Regions from separate parts of the Homo sapiens genome. Here all the other regions are linked to region 1. The links are contacts of gene promoters, found by promoter capture Hi-C in human tissues and cell types (Jung and others, 2019). All regions are on one chromosome and are shown on one strand. Each heading gives the region's core, a stretch centred on a gene start or on the middle of the fragment in contact. The rest is flanking DNA. Distances are from core to core; before and after follow the strand shown.

Region 1 (2,802 bases), core at 120-2,619:
TTTGGACTTTGGGAGGTCAAGGCAGGAGAATTGCTTGAGACTAGGAGTTCAAGACCAGCCTGGGCAACACAGGGAGACCCCCGGGACCGTTTCTACAAAAAAAAAAAAAAAAAAAAAAAAAATTGAGAACTGCTGATCTAGCCAATCCACCCACTCACGAATTCCCCTCCCATGAATTGGAGAGAAACTTGACCTCCCAAAGTCTTCTTGGATGCCTCCATGGACAAGAAAACTCACTGCAGGTCGGGCACCGTGGCTCACGCCTATAATCCCAGCACTATGGGAAGCCGAGGCGGGTGGATCACCTGAGGTCAAGAGTTCGAGACCAGCCTGGCCAACATGATGAAACTCCGTCTCTACTAAAAATAGAGAAATTAGCCGAGCGTGGTGGCGGGAGCCTGTAATCCCAGCTACTGGGTAGGTTGAGGCAGGAGAATCGCTTGAACCCAGGAAACAGAGGTTGCAGTGAGCGGAGATGGCGCCATTGCACTCCGGCCTGGGTGTCAGAGCGAGACTCCGTCTCGAAACAAACAAAACCACTTCATTGCAAACGCGGTAGGCAATGAGGACCCAGGCAGCCCGCTTTGGCCAGCTCTGCCCAAGGAACAGTCTTCCCGTTCACCCCCACTTCTGCCCGGCTGTAACCTGTCACTCCTGTCCCCTCGGAGCCCAGACTGCCCCTCCTCCGATTCACACCCCGACAGCTGAAGGGAATGAGGAGCGGCCGCCGCATGCGCCCCTGGCCCGCAGGTGAGTGGAGGCTGAAATGGCGGGAGGCTGAAATGGCGGGAGCCTGAGCTAAGGCCGAATCCCCGGGAAATGGAGGCAGGGGCAGCAAAGGGAAGGAGCCAGAAGGCGGAAGGCGGGAAGGTGTGTCCCTGAGACTGGGTGAGGTCCCGGGGGATCCGGATTTCCGTCCTTTCAGGCGCAGAGCCAGTGGACCGGGCTCCACGGAGGCCCGCAGGCCGGCCTGGGGCTGAGGGGCCCGAGAGGCCGCTGCGGCCGGGTCCGGGACGGGCTGACAGGGAGGAGAGTGAACACAGCGCGGGGGCCCGGTTTCGCGTCGGGTTCACCGGAGCGGGTCTGGCAAGGGCCTGGCCGCGTTTGCTGAGGGAAATGGCCAAACCCAGGTCTTCTGAAGAAAAGGTTCCGCCCGCACCGACACGCCGGGGTCCGGCAGCAGCTCCAGCGCGCAGGCCAGGCACAGGCGGGGGGTCACGGGCAGCAGCCAGCGCGGGTCGTGCCGGTAATGGGCCCTCTCGAATAGAAGCGCCGCCTCTTCCTCTCTCCTGGGCCCGGGAGTGCCCGCCGTCGCCGCCTGCCTCACAGCCATCTCCTCGCTTGCCCTCAGCTGAGGCGGCACTCTTTCCCGCGCAGACTGCACGCATGCGCACTTGGAGGACGGACCTGCGTCGGTGTGGAATGCGCCTGCGCGGACCCAGGGCGCTGCAGTCTCAGACGAGCAGCAGCCACTGAGGGCAAGTGGTGGACGCAAGTGCTCTGGATCGTGTCTAGCTAAGCCAAAAGCGGTTTGTGCTTAGAACCCTGCAGGAATGTCTTTACCACATCCAAAGTTGAAAAGCAATTATAAAGTAGGGGGCATTTGCCTTGAAAAAGGAAGGAAAGGAAGCTATTTCTACTGTTTTTTAAAAATGAAGGCCGGGCATGGTGGCTCACGCCTGTAATCCCAGCACTTTGGGAAGCCGAGGTGGGCGGATCACGAGATCTGGAGATCAAGACCATCTTACCCAACATGGTGAAACCCCGTCTCTACTAAAATACAAAAAATTAGCTGGGTGTGGTGGCAAGTGCCTGTAATCCCAGCTACTTGGGAGGCTTGAGGCAGGGGAATCACTTGAACCTGGGAGGCGGAGGTTGCAGTGAGCTGAGATTGTGCCACTGCACTCCAGCCTGGCGACAGAGCAAGACTCTATCTCAAAAAAAAAAAAAAAAAGGAAAATAAGCGATCCCAAGGATTCGCATCTAAAAGCAATTAGAGGCTGGGTGAGTTGGCTCATGCCTGTAATCACAGCACTTTGGGAGGGAGGCTGAGGCAGGAGAATCACTTGAACCTGGGAGGTGGAGGTTGCAGTGAGCCAAGATCGCACCACTGCACTCCAGCCTGGGTGACAGAGGAAGACTCCATCTTAAAAATAAATAAATAAATCAGAAGCTTAAGACCAAAAAATAAAAGTAAAAAAACAAAACAAAACACCAAAGACAGAGAGAAAGAAGTTCAAGACCAGCCTGAGCAACAGGGCGAAACCCCTCCTCTACTAAAAATACAAAAATTAGCTGGGTGTGGTGGCTCATGACTGTAATCCCAGCTACTCGGGAGGCTGAGGCAGCAGAATCGCTTGAACCCAGGAGGCGGAGGTTACAGTGAGCGGAGATCAAGCCACTGAACTCCAGCTTGGGCCACAGACCTACACTCCATCTCAAAAAAAAAAAAAAAAGCGTCCCATGCAGAGGACCACCCCTCCCCATAAGCAGCTGAGGCTTTTGGAGTGTCCTGCCTCAATCAGGATTAGCTTGGAGACAGAGCAGGATAGAACCTCAGTGGACTCCACTGTGAGGAGCTGGGGGGCAGGTGTTTCGGAGAGGACACTGGGTTGACCCACATTCCCTAAACCACAACCACAGAGTGGAAGGGGCTTCTACCCCACCCACAAAGTATCCCAAACCCCGAAAGGGGGCACTTGGAAAATGTGCCAGAGAAATCAGAACACCACAGGGCCCAAATGACCAATTTATTAGAGGCTTTGCAGGGATCAGGACACTCTCAAAGCTTTTCTGATATGT
Region 2 (3,128 bases), core at 307-2,806, 740 kb before region 1:
TTCCAGATCTTGAAGATTCCTTTTGGTGTGGCGGGGTTGGGGAGTTGGCACTAGCTCCTTGCTGCCTCCCAGAAACTGAGCATAGCAGGGGGACCATGGTATGTGTCCAGTAGAAAAGCCCGGGTCCCCTCTGTGACCTCAAGCAGGTGAGTCACTGTTTTTCTCCCTCACTAAATATGTCAGCTGAGGCGTATAATATCTGCCCTGATTAAAGGACCAGGTGAATTGCAGGAGAGCGCAGTGGTTAAAGCCAGGTCCCGGGAGCTGGAGCCCTTGTTCCACTGCGTCTTCGCTGTGTGGCCTTGGGCAAGTGGCTTGTGTTCTCTGAACTCCAGTTTCCTCATCTGCGAAGCAGGAGCAGTCATAACACCTCCCATACAAGGTTTCTATGAGGGCTGAAGTACAAGAAAAGCCTTTAGAACTGTGTCTGGCATCAAACAAATGCTTAAGAGCCAAAAATACAAGCAGCTGGAACTGAGAGGGGATTCTGGAGACAAGCCAGGCCAGGCTTCCAGCCCGGGCAGCCTGCGGGCAGATGGCCTCCAGGTGGGTCTGCCTGCCTCTGGTGGGGTCAGCACCACCCAGCTGCAGGGCCACTGCGAGGCACAAGACGGCCCCAGAGGTAAACCCGGCTGCTCCTAGGATGGAGGCTGCCCTTTTTGATAGTGAGGGTGTTTGAGAGAGAGGGTGGATCGGCCCCTGAGTACCCTGGAACCCTTTTTGCCTCAGTGAAGCCAGCTCAGAGGGTCATTCTGAGGGGTCCCTCCTGCTGGTCGGCTCAGCTCCTCTTGGTGCTGGAGTCTTTGGGGAGGAAGGAAGTGATTTTCGCAGCCGCAGCGGGGAGCAGAGGGATCTCCTTCCCACGGCACTTCTGCTTCCTGTGCAGAAAGGAACCATGAAGAGCTCAGGACCTCACTGTGTCCCGGCTGGAGGCCTCTCAGCTGCCACTTGCTGGCTGGGGCATTTGAAAATCCTGGATTGAGGCCGGGTGCGGTGGCTCACGCCTGTAGTCCCAGCACTTCGGGAGGCCAAGGCGGGCAGATCACCTGAGGTCAGGAGTTCGAGACCAGCCTGGCCAACATGGTAAAACCCTATCTCTACTAAAAATACAAAAATTAGCCAGGTGTGGTGGCAGGCGCCTGTAATCCCAACTACTCGGAAGGCTGAGGCGGGAGAATCACTTGAACCCGCAAGGCAGAGATTTCAGTGAGCTGAGATCATGCCACTGCACTCCAGCCTAGTGGAGTCTTTTTTGAGCCTGTCTCAAAAAAAAAAAAAAAAAAAAAGAAGAAGAAAAGGAAATCTTGGAGGTGGTCGTGGGTAGGGGATCTGTTTTTCTCCCTGGACAGGGAGCGCCTTGAGGGCAAAACCATGACTTATGTTTTGTCTGCCCAATGCCTGGCACGCAGTAGGCACATAATAAGTGTTTGTGGAACTAAACTGAAAACAGAGACCAGCTGGGCAAAGTGGCTCACACCTATAATCGCAGCACTTTGGGAGGCTGAGGTGGGCGGATCACCTGAGGTTGGGAGTTCGAGACCAGCCTGACCAACATGAAGAAATGCCATCTCTACTAAAAATACAAAATTAGCCGGGCGTGGTGGCACATGCCTGTAATCCCAGCTACTCGGGAGGCTGAGGCAGGAGAATCACTTGAACCCGGGAGGCAGAGTTTACGGTGAGCCGAGATCGCGCCATTGCACTCCAGCCTGGGCAACAAGAGAAAAATTCTGTCTCAAAAAAAAAAAAAAAAGAAAGAAAAGAAAAAGAAAACAGAGGCCAGTAATTGTGGTCTCATTTGGAAAGCCTTAGTCTTGGTGTCGAGGAGGCCCCTGGGGACTGCAGGGGACACCTGGGCTCCCCCATTTCCCCACCCAGCTTCCACCTCCTTCAGGGCTGCCACTCAGAAATTACTTTAACCTCCCTGTTCCTCAGTTTCCTCATCTGTACAATGGAGGTGATTAGAGTGCCTGCCCCATAGGGCTGCAGTGAGGATTAAACTGGCAAGGAGAGCAGGTCCCCTGGAGCAGTGTCAGGCGCTTGGAAGCTTCCCGGAACTGCTCTATTATTGCTTCACTCTGCTGAGGTTGCCGTGCCCCTAGGCTTCCCAGGGAGGCTAGGCTCTTTCACTTCTACAGCCTCCGTGAGGCCAGGGCCCAGGGCAGGGCAGGTGTTCAGTATACTGTGAGGCATAGATGCACGGATAAACGGGGAATGGACGGAGGTCTGGGCAAAAGCCAGTGGCTGAGACGTGTGGTCCCCAGGGACCTCACCTGCAAATTCAGCTGCCAAGGCCTAGCTCGAAGGCTGTGCCACTGAAGCTGCCCCTGGGACACCCACAGAGCCTCCTCATTCCTCTGCTCCGCCTTCAGCCTTTGGGGCCTTTACTGTTTATTCACAGCTCTGGCTGAGGGCACAGGAGAGGAAGCACATGAGAGGTGCTAGAAAGTTTTGGTAGAAATGAGGCTCCTGGATGCGCTGCGGTTTTATTTCTATCCCCCTGGCTCCCGAGGAGGATCAGGGCCAGACACGAGGCCCCGACAGCGCAGCCAGGGCTGCTGGGCTCCTTGCCAAGGTGCGTCCCTGCCTCTCCCCAGGAGGCTGCGTGGCTGCAGAGCGTCTCAGAAACTGGGCAATGAGCTGGGACCCTCAGCTGCTTCTTGTCCAGTCATGTCTGCGCTCCACAGCCCAGGGCCTGCCTGGGGAGTATGCACGCCTCCTCCCACCCTGCCTCCCAGAGGCTACCCCTTCCCTTGAGGCCTCTTGTGCACCAGCGTGGTGTTGGGCACCTGCCTTCATATCAAGCCTGGAGGAAGGCTTCTCCCTGCCTTATGCTCACCCATCCGTCCATTCCTGCACCCCCTGGGCCAGGCTCAAGAAGGAGAGGGGAGGAAGACAGGCAGCTCAGGCAGGCAAGCGTGGAAACCAGGTGTGCAGCAGGCTAGACCCAGACTCAGAGGCGGCAGAACTCCCGGGAGTCCGAGGTACAGAGTTGGGGTGTGGGGGGCACCGTGACAGGCTGAGAGGTAGGGTCAGTGAGCTGGCACAGGGGCAGGAGCGGAGGCGGCACCAGGGCTGGAAGAGCAGGCTCCCTTGTTCCGAGGCAGTTTGGCATTCAGCTGCCTCCC
Region 3 (3,167 bases), core at 627-3,126, 910 kb before region 1:
TTTCCTCACCACAGCACATCTCCAGTGACTTTAGTTGTGAAAGATCCGTAGAGAGTCTCCTCAGGATAGCATTAGGTACCAGTTGCAGTGCTGGCCTGCCCCTCATGTTGGTTTTTTCCTTTATTTATTTGAGACAGGATCTTGCTCTGTCATCCAGGCTGGAGTGCAGTGGCAAGATCACAGCTCACTCCAACCTCTGCCTCCTGGGCTTAAGCAGTCTTCCTGCCTCAGCCTACCAGGTAGCTGGGACCACAGGCATATGCCATCATGCCTGGCTAATTATTTTTGTATTTTCTGTAGAGACAAGGTCTCGCCATGTTGCCCAGGCTGGTTTCGAACTCCTGGACTCAAGCAGTCCTCCTGCCTCTGCCTCACAAAGTGCTGGGGTTACAGGTGTGAGCCACTGTGCCCAGCAGTTTCTTCCTTTAGATATGAGGGCATCCCCAGTTAAGTCAGTTGACATGTCCGCTTTTGTTAGTTCGATGAGTTTAACCCTCAGCGGATAGCTTTCTGTCAGCTGCCTCCAAGCAGTTCAGTGTGGCAGCCTTGAATGTGCTGGAGGCTGGAGTTGAGCAGCTCTCTGGGCCAGACGCCTCATCTGGGGAGTCCTTGGAGCTGGAAGTGGGAGGTTGTTGGGGGACAGGGTGGATTGTAAACTTTGCAGTTCAGCCCAGGACTCTGGTCCTGGTACTGACTGCTTGTTTCCTTGTTGAAATAAGATAAAGGAAATAAAGACCTAAACACAAAAGGGAGGAAATGAGTTATTACATAACTCTAGGGAACGAATTATGTTTTAAAATGAAACATCTGCACAAGACTCTTGGGTAAGGGGATAGTATTTTATTTTATTTATTTATTTTTGAGACAGAGTTTTGCTCTTGCTGCCCAGGCTGGAGTGCAATGGCGCGATCTCAGCTCACCGAAACCTCCACCTCCTGGATTCAAACGATTCTCCTGCCTCAGCCTCCTGAGTAGCTGGGACTACAGGCATGGGCCACTACGCCCGGCTAATTTTTTGTATTTTTAGTAGAGACAGGGTTTCACCATGTTGGCCAGGCTGGTCTCAAACTCCTGACCTCAAGTGATCCGCCCATCTCAGCCTCCCAAAGTGCTTGGGATTACAGGCGTGAGCCACCTCGCCCAGCAGGGGATAGTATTTTAGTGTCTTGTTTTTCTTTGTGTCTCTTAAACACCTAATTCAGAGTTGACCCTCAGTCATAGTTAGAATTAAGCTGTTTTCTCTCTATAAAAATGACCTAAACACACACCTAAACGAACACCCCCTAACCCAGAAGCTTTTTTTGTTTGTTTTTATAAGACGGAATCTTGCTCTGTCACCCAGGCTGGAGTGCAGTGGTGCGATCTTGGCTCATGGCAACCTCTGCCTCCCATAACCCAGAGGATTTTAAACCCATGGGTTAAAATCTGCTTTATAATAATCCAGGGCCCCACTTCATGGGCCTGAATCTTTTGGACTGGACATCTGTCCAGAATGGGCTGTAGCCCTGCCCTCCCCAGACAGAGCCAGGAGGGTGAAATATTCCTATAGCCCAGACAGACCCTCCCTGGTCATCACACCTATGCCAGGTTCCCGTAGGGGGTATAGAGGAGAGAATTTGGGGTCCAGGGAACGTTTGCCTTCTCACCTGCCAGCAGCGCTCTTGCCAGGACCTCGCGGAATACCTGGTGAAGCCCTGGAAGCAGTTGCAGAGCTGTAGTTTCGGTGCGATGGAGGTGGGGCATTACGAGACTCAGTCAAAACCTTCCTCCTTCGCCCTCCCAAACATTTACTGAGGATAAAAGTGCAGGATGTGTTTTGGGAACGTCAGTAGTCACTGCAGTGGGGAGTAAGGCTGCAGCCATAAGCTGGAGCCAGAGCCGAGGCCCCCCCAGGGGTTGGGCTTTGTAAAGGAGCCCCCAGCAGTTCTAGAAGCGGGAGGGTAACATAATTGAGTCTGTGTTTTAGAGACCTACCCCTGGCAGGAGTGTTGATTTGAAAAATTTCCGATGACTAATGCCTGCCTGAAACCAGTACTGCTGCCTGCTGGGATGAATAGCTGTCTTTTCATGCAGGAAGAGCAGCTGTGATTATAAAAAGCCTGAACACTGAAGCCCCCTCAAGCTGTTCACGAAAGAAGTTGAAAGCACTGGTGGAACCAGGGAACTGAGTGCATCAGATTGAGGGAAATAGCTTACTCCCTCCCACCGTGAGGAGCTCCTACTACATCCTCAACTACCGTTAACTCCCACCCCTAAATGTGCCTTTTAGGCTGTTCAAATAGATAAAAATGCCAGCACAAAGCATCTTGGTGGTCCTTCCTGCCAGGCAGGCATTGTGGTATGCGAGTTCTCAGTGCGTGCACCACCCGCTCGCCTCGCTGCTTGTGCTCACCCTTTGGTCGCTAGAGAGTGCTCCGTATCCCTGGGCATGACCGGAGTCCTAAGATTTCTTCAGCCTGCGGACTGTTTATCCTTCCTTTATATATATGTATAAATTTTTAAGGGTTTAACAACATATTGAAACTGAAATACCAGACAATAATGATAAGGAAGATTGTTTCTTTTTGTTTTGGTGGTGGTGGTTTTTTTTTGTTTTGTTTTGTTTTGATTTTTGAGACAGGGTCTTGTTCTGTCTCCCAGGCTGGAGTCCAGTGGTGTGATCTTGGCTCACTGCAGCCTGGACCTCCTGGGCTTAGTTGATCCTCCTGCCTTGGCCTTCTGAGTAGCTGGGACTACAGATGTGCATCATCACTTGCAGCTAATTTTTTTTTGGGGGGGGGGGTAAGGTTATAGATTAACAGCATCCCAAGGCAGAAGAATTTTTCTTAGTACAGAACAAAATGAAGTCTCCCACGTCTACTTCTTTCTACACAGACACAGTAACAATCTGATCTCTCTTTTCCCCACATTTCCCCCTTTTCTATTCGACAAAACCGCCATCGTCTTCATGGCCCGTTCTCAATGAGCTGTTGGGTACACCTCCCAGACGGGGTGGCGGCCGGGCAGAGGGGCTCCTCACTTCCCAGACGGGGTGGTGGCTGGGTGGAGGCGCCCCCCACCTCCCGAACAGGGCGGCTGGCTGTGCGGGGGCTGCCCCCCACCTCCCTCCCAGACGGGGCGGCTGCCGGGCGGAGACGCTCCTCACTTCCCAGACGGGGCGGCTGCTG

The links. Contacts are between HindIII fragments. The study calls those that stand out against the background at their distance.
Region 2: a fragment that was not itself captured here is called in contact with the fragment with the promoter of MEI1 in region 1 in 1 of the 25 tissues and cell types used here (spleen).
Region 3: a contact is called between a fragment that was not itself captured here and the fragment with the promoter of MEI1 in region 1, in 1 of the 25 tissues and cell types used here (dorsolateral prefrontal cortex).

The regions. Positions count from the first base shown.
Region 1 is chr22:41,698,070-41,700,871 of GRCh38, reverse strand. It overlaps MEI1 (meiotic double-stranded break formation protein 1), which reads right to left and starts at 1,369. Exons shown (of 31, transcript NM_152513.4): 1 at 1,160-1,369. The coding sequence starts at 1,333. It also overlaps the pseudogene C22orf46P. RefSeq lists a silencer at 1,297-1,396. The HindIII fragment of the contact is 9,130 bases long and covers 1-2,481 here.
Region 2 is chr22:42,433,974-42,437,101 of GRCh38, reverse strand. It overlaps a transcript of NFAM1 not described here. Among named protein-coding and RNA genes, the nearest start is that of NFAM1, 3.1 kb to the right of the region's middle. The HindIII fragment of the contact is 3,004 bases long and covers 55-3,058 here.
Region 3 is chr22:42,607,869-42,611,035 of GRCh38, reverse strand. All of the region lies in intron 1 of POLDIP3 (DNA polymerase delta interacting protein 3), which reads left to right. It overlaps LOC124905127 (a long non-coding RNA gene), which reads left to right. Exons shown (of 2, transcript XR_007068118.1): 2 at 2,074-2,301. Among named protein-coding and RNA genes, the nearest start is that of POLDIP3, 5.4 kb to the left of the region's middle. The HindIII fragment of the contact is 5,591 bases long and covers 1-3,167 here.